2 separate regions of the Homo sapiens genome follow, and region 2 is linked to region 1. Evidence: promoter capture Hi-C in human tissues and cell types (Jung and others, 2019). All regions are on one chromosome and are shown on one strand. Each heading gives the region's core, a stretch centred on a gene start or on the middle of the fragment in contact. The rest is flanking DNA. Distances are from core to core; before and after follow the strand shown.

The links. The method cuts DNA at HindIII sites, captures the fragments that hold promoters and counts their contacts. A contact is called where the count stands out against the background at its distance.
Region 2: a contact is called between a fragment that was not itself captured here and the fragment with the promoter of DIAPH3 in region 1, in 1 of the 25 tissues and cell types used here (IMR-90 fibroblasts).

What each region holds. Positions count from the first base shown.
Region 1 is chr13:60,162,555-60,165,681 of GRCh38, reverse strand. It overlaps DIAPH3 (diaphanous related formin 3), which reads left to right and starts at 1,754. Exons shown (of 28, transcript NM_001042517.2): 1 at 1,754-2,095. The coding sequence starts at 1,916. LOC105370227 (a long non-coding RNA gene) reads right to left here and starts at 1,625. Exons shown (of 2, transcript XR_942001.2): 1 at 1,483-1,625. RefSeq lists enhancers at 1-227, 1,316-1,365. The HindIII fragment of the contact is 10,910 bases long and covers 1-3,127 here.
Region 2 is chr13:60,126,600-60,129,645 of GRCh38, reverse strand. All of the region lies in intron 2 of DIAPH3 (diaphanous related formin 3), which reads left to right. Among named protein-coding and RNA genes, the nearest start is that of DIAPH3-AS2, 17 kb to the left of the region's middle. The HindIII fragment of the contact is 9,956 bases long and covers 1-3,046 here.

The DNA of each region.
Region 1 (3,127 bases), core at 505-3,004:
TAATTTGTTTTGTCTTTCAAAATCAAACATTCCCCTCTCTCCATGATATGGATGACTAATGCTTGTCAGTTACAGCTTTAGGCTTGTCTTTTAGCCTGCCATCCTCCTAGATAAGATAATCACTGAACTGTCTCCACTTCCTGAAGGCACTTAATCTTGAGCAACCCTTCCCACCTCTTTCCACGGAGTCTTTCCCAAATCACCTAATCAAAGCCCAAATCCTTTAAGTGCTTTCTAATACCATTTACCTAAGACACTTCATGGCTCCCCATAGTGCATGTTCTCCCTCCCTGAGTAATAATCCCAACTTCTTCAACTACAGTATTCCTGTAGGAGCATTGACAAAACTCTAAGGGCTTTACATATGCTATGTTATTTAGGCCTGAAAATGCCCCTCTTTCATAGGTATTAGTATAATTACCCCCCTTTTGTAGATGAAGCAGCAAAGAAAGTTAAACGTCATCTCCGGTATCAAATAGCTAGTAAATGGCAGGAATAAAATCTGTATCTGGGTCTGTCATCAAGATATAAGGAACTACTTGTAGTTCTCCTGACCTTGCTGTTCTCCTGTAAGTTTCCCTAAAGATTATGTGCTCTTTGAGGACAGAGCTGTAGAGTCTGGCACAGTAAAACAAATATTAAAAAAGAAAAGCTGTAGTGTGAAGACTTACTGAGAACTAAGGCTCATTTTTTGAACCTCTGTGCCAAACTCCTCAGAGTACCTAGAGTTGTTTCTTGTACCAAAATCAATACTGCATGTTTCCGAGTCTTGGCCTACACCACCTCCATATAATCAGAAGACAGATATCTTAAAGGAATAGTTCCAAGGAAAAGCTCATTTTTAAAGAGGGTATATTGATGTGTTGAGAAAACGGTGTTTGCCTTGTAGCTTGACCTTGGGTTTACACAACAAACTCTTTTGCATGGTTTCAGTTCAAGGCCCTTTGTTATGTGACCTTAAAGTTTCTTCACCTCTATGCTTTCTTGGCCTTGCTCCTGCCTGGAATGGAATGCCTTTTAAATGAATGCCCTGCCACTGTTTCCTGCCTAGTGAAAACCTATGCAGCTTTCCTTTTACCTTTCCAGATCCACTCCTTCAGATTTAATAACTTCCCTTTTTGTTCTCAAGGAACTTCTAAAACAACTGCTATAGACATTTACATTCCTTGGTTAATTGTGTTAGGGTTTGGAAACTACAGGAGACTGTGAGCTCCTGAAGGGCTCAGCCTAGCCTAGCTCTGTCTGATTTTGGGTGGACCCCTCTGCCACCCCAGAGCGAGCACTTAGGCAGGAAATATGTCCAGAAGGCTTCCTTTTGGAGCGTCGTGGGCCCCGTCGTTTCATCCTGCCTAGTACCCCTTCCAGCACCGTACCCAGTCCCAGAACTACTTTTTCCAGCCCCAGACGTGCAAGGAGAGGGCTAGCAGATGGTTTTATATCCCAGCGCTGCTCAAATGGTGGCGCAGGGCCTGTCTCGCCCACCTTCCAGTTCTGCTGGAACCCTATCTGCAAATCCAAAGAAATCCAGGCCGATGACTTCCTCCACGGTCCCCGGCGCTTCTCCAAATCTGACGCCACTCTGCGTCCTTAAGGTGAGCGGCCTGGACCGCCGGAAGGGTTGAGCGGCTGCATAGACAGGCCGCAAGGCCAATCATGTTTCGCAGTGCCCGGAAGGGGCGGTGCCTCAGCGTGTCATTGATCCGGCGGCGCGGGATTGGCCAGTCCCGGGCCAACACGGGTGGCGGGAGTTTTCAGATGTGTTGGCTGCGGCCCCGACTTCAGCGGTTGGGCTAGGCTGTGCTGACTGTTTGGGTGGCGGACCCCGGGAGTAAAACCTGTTGTCGATCCCTCAGCTTCCAGCTTGCGGCTTGCTGAGTGGCCACCTTCTTTCCGGTCCCCGGAGCTGCGGGGAAAGATGGAACGGCACCAGCCGCGGCTGCACCACCCGGCCCAAGGCTCAGCCGCTGGGACTCCCTACCCTTCCTCAGCCTCTCTCCGCGGCTGCCGGGAAAGCAAGATGCCGCGCAGGAAGGGCCCCCAACACCCTCCGCCGCCCAGTGGCCCCGAGGAGCCTGGGGAGAAGCGCCCCAAGTTTGTGAGTATCGCCTGGAGCTAGGGTGGGGCCGCTCCCGCCCCGCCGTAGGGCTGACTGCCGAGGGTGGGCCCACAAGAACTTGGGGACCAAGTTTTATTCTAGAGATCCAGAGGTGCCAAAGATCATAGATTGACAACGACCGGGTCTAGTTGTAGTTGGATCCTGTGACAAATGCCCAGATCTTTGTGTTGCCCCCAAATTTCTTAACGCTGATGTGAAAAGCAGTTCAAACGTGTATATGTATTGACGTCATCTAGGTGGACATTGCATTTTTTAAGTCGAAGTTCTCCCTTCCTCCCTAGTGTAAGAGGGTATAAGATATATCAAAATGAACTTTTAGGTGACAGGTTTTTTTTCTGCTTATTATTTTAATAAGAACTTTTAATTACATATAAGAACTTTTAAGGTAGATATAATTTTCCAAGTTGAAACAGCTAGTTTTAGAACTTGGCGGGTGGTGTGGTCACTGCTAAAGAATGTTTTGCTTAGCTTGGAAAGAATTCTAAATATTTGAAACTTGCTATTCTGGTTTGCTTGTGTTTAACACTTAAGGAAAGTGTCATGATTAACACCTTGTCTTTTCGTTGGTGTCAACTAGTGAAAGTATAGGCAGTGATGATTATTTTGGGGTTTGTGTGTGTAAATAAATCACATAGAGGGTTGATAGATTTGGGATGAGTCCAACAGAATTGAAATTTCACATTGACCACTCCACCATTTTCCTTAGGAATATGGAAAAACTGTGTGTGTGTGTGTGTGTGTGTGTGTGTGTGTGTGAGAGAGAGAGAGAGAGAGAGAGAGAGTACAGCATTTGCCTTATGTGGGCAAGTAAAAATTGTGAGAAATTTAAGTCATGATTCACAAATTAAGGGAATAATGGTTTGTGAACCAGTTGCTAACTATAACATTTAGTTAAAAATAATAGTTGAATAAGACTGAGAGCCCATATTCTGATACATGAGATATATCAGAATACTGAAAATGAGAAACAGCATAGATTAATTGAAAATGAGGAACAGCATAGATTAATTA
Region 2 (3,046 bases), core at 537-3,036, 36 kb after region 1:
GGCATATAAGAATAGCAATGTGCTGTAGTCATACATTTGAATAACAGTATTTTAGAAACATTAAAACATCACGGGAAGCATTAATGTTAAAAACCTATCCCTTTAAGTTGTTTTGTTAAAGGTCTGCAAAAGTACTTCATGTTTTAAGGTTATTTCTTGAGTTACTATCAGAATTGAATTTCACTGTCTTGTTAAAGGAATAAAGGATTGCTATATTGTTGGGTTCCCTAGGCAGAGTTAATAGACTATAAGCAGTGTTTGTTCTATAAATATGAGCATTCTCTTTGTATAAAGTGCAGCTTAGGTGCTAGGGTAATAAATAAAGGTGAATAAATGTTTAGCTTATAACTTCCATTGCTTATACCTGGGTTTTGAAGAAGGTTTTCCTCATAGAGGCAAAAAGGTTGGGAGGAGGGGGGAGTGAGGGGAGACAGGTTTGAAAAGGTAAGTTGGAAGACATTGAATGTGGATGTGACAATGCTAAATTATCCATCAGTGTGTCCACTGAGTGTTTTTGGAGTATAGGAGTTGTTTTTGACTTGCTGTTTTCTCTCCTGTCCTTCATAACCATTTGTCTACAGTATAGTACTTCTATGATCCTCATCTCTTTGTTCATCTGACTGCAGCCTGCTTTACTGTTTGGCCTGCAGCAATGGTTTTCAAATCTTTTTGACTAGATACTGCATTAAGAAATATATTTTATTTTGTAGCCTGGCATGCATAAACTCCTAAACTCTCTGCTTCTCAGTTGAAACAAAAGTTTAAAAACCAGTATTTAACATTTCTAAGCAAAATGAATTCTGATCTTTTTATTTCCATTCCTTTCTAATTTTCTTCACTCCTCTCCATTCCTTAAAAAAAAAAAAAAGGTAATTGAATCCACTAAATTGATTTCATGACCCACAAATGGTTAACAGCTATAGCTAGAAAACCAAACATTGGCCTGCACAGAAACTAGAGGAAGTCATGAGGTCTTTGCATTAGTGTCTATTCTTTATTATATGTAGTTGCATGTAGGAAAGCCAGGTTAGAATGCCACCTCTGCCATTTACTAGCTGTGTGACTTTGTGTTAGTTATGTAGCTTTTGAGCCTTGGTATAGAGATAGTTTAAGGGACAAATTAAGTAAGATGCTTGGTAAACCGTGCATTTATAATTTAGTGCTATGTTTAGTAATACACACTTTCAAAAAATGAGGTATGATCCAGCAATCTCATTGCTGGGTATATACCCAAAGGAATATAAAATTTTCTACCATAAAGACACATGTACACGTATGGTCATTGCAGCACTATTTACAATAGCAAAGACATGGAATCAATCTAAATGCCCATCAATGGCAGATTGGATAAAGAAAGTATGGTACTAATACACCATGCAATACTATGCAGCCATAAAAAAGAACAAGATCATGTCCTTTGCAGGAACATGGATGGAGCTGGAGGCCATTATCCTTAGCAAACTAACACAGGAACAGAAAACCAAATACTGCATGTTCTCACTTGTAAGTGGGAGCTAAATGATGAGAACACATGGACACAAAGAGGGGAAAAACAGACACTGGGGCATACTTGAGGGTGATGGGTGGGAGGAGGGAGAATATCAGAAAAAATATCTATTAAGTACTAGTACTAGGACCAGTACCTGGCTGAAATAATCTGTACAACAAACCTATGTGACATGAGTTTATCTATATAACAAACCTGCACATGTACCTCTGAACCTAAAAGTTAAAAAAAAAGTTGAGGTATGATTTACTTACAATATAATTTACGTGCATTATATTGTACCAGTATTGAGTATAATCTGATGAATTTTGAGAAATATATACAATAATGAGTGCACTAGTCGTGATATGAAATATTTCCATCACCCCAAAAGGTTCCCTCTGTACCCGCTTACAGTCAATTCTCTTCTCCCATCCTGGCTTTTGACAAACACTTATCAGCATTCTGAACTATAGTTCAGTTTTTAGAATTTCATATAAATGGAGTCACAAAGTGTGTTGCCTTTGTGTCTGGCTCATTGTTTGGTAATACTACAATTGGTTTAACTTCAGCAGTTTGGGTTGTTTCCAGTTTTCGGCTATTATTAGTACAGTTGCTATGAGCATTTGAGTACAGCATTGTTTTTTTTTGTGTATATGTTTTTGTTTTTTGTGGGAGTCATATAGTAAGTGTGTCTTTAACTTGATAAGAAACTGACAAATTGTTTCCCACAATTACTAATGTTGAACTTTTTTTTATGTGCTTATTTAACATTTTCTTGTTTAAATGTCTGTTACTAGATATAGGACTATTCAAGTAATCTATTTTTTCCTAAGTGAGCCTTGGTAGTTTATGTCTTTCAAGGACATACATTTTACCTATATTGTTAAATCTAAATTTTTACCTATATTTTAAATTTTATCTATGTTGTTGAATTTATGGGTATAAAGTTGTTTGTGATATTTTCTTATCCCTTTAATGCAGGATCTGTATTAATTACCCCCTTTGCAATCCTCATATTGATAATTTGTGTTTTCTGTGTTTTTCTCTGTGACTAGTCTGGCTAGAGGTTTGCCAGTTTTATTGATCTTTTGAAAAACTAGCTTTTGTTTTCACTAATTTTCTTTATAGTTCTTTTGTTTTTGTTTGTTTTACCTTTATTATTTACTTTCTTTTGTTTTATTATTTTTTTCTCTGATTTCTTAAGGTAGAACTCTAAGTCATTGATTTAATACCTTTGTTTGCTAACATGTTAGATTTTTTATGCTATAAATTTTCCTCTGACATCTGCTTTAGCTGCATCCCACAAAATTTTATTGAATTGAATATTTTTAAATTTCTTATTTTCTTTGACCCATGGGTTATTTTGGTATATGTTATTTAACTTCCAAATATTTAGGGGTTTTCCTGATATTTGACTGTGTCTGATTTGTAATTTAGTTCCCTCGTGGTCAGAGACCTGTAGTTTGCATGAATTCTGTCCTTTCTGATTTTTTAAGTCTTACTTTATGTCCCAGAACATGGTCTATCTTGGTCAGTATTCGTGTATATTCTGAATGG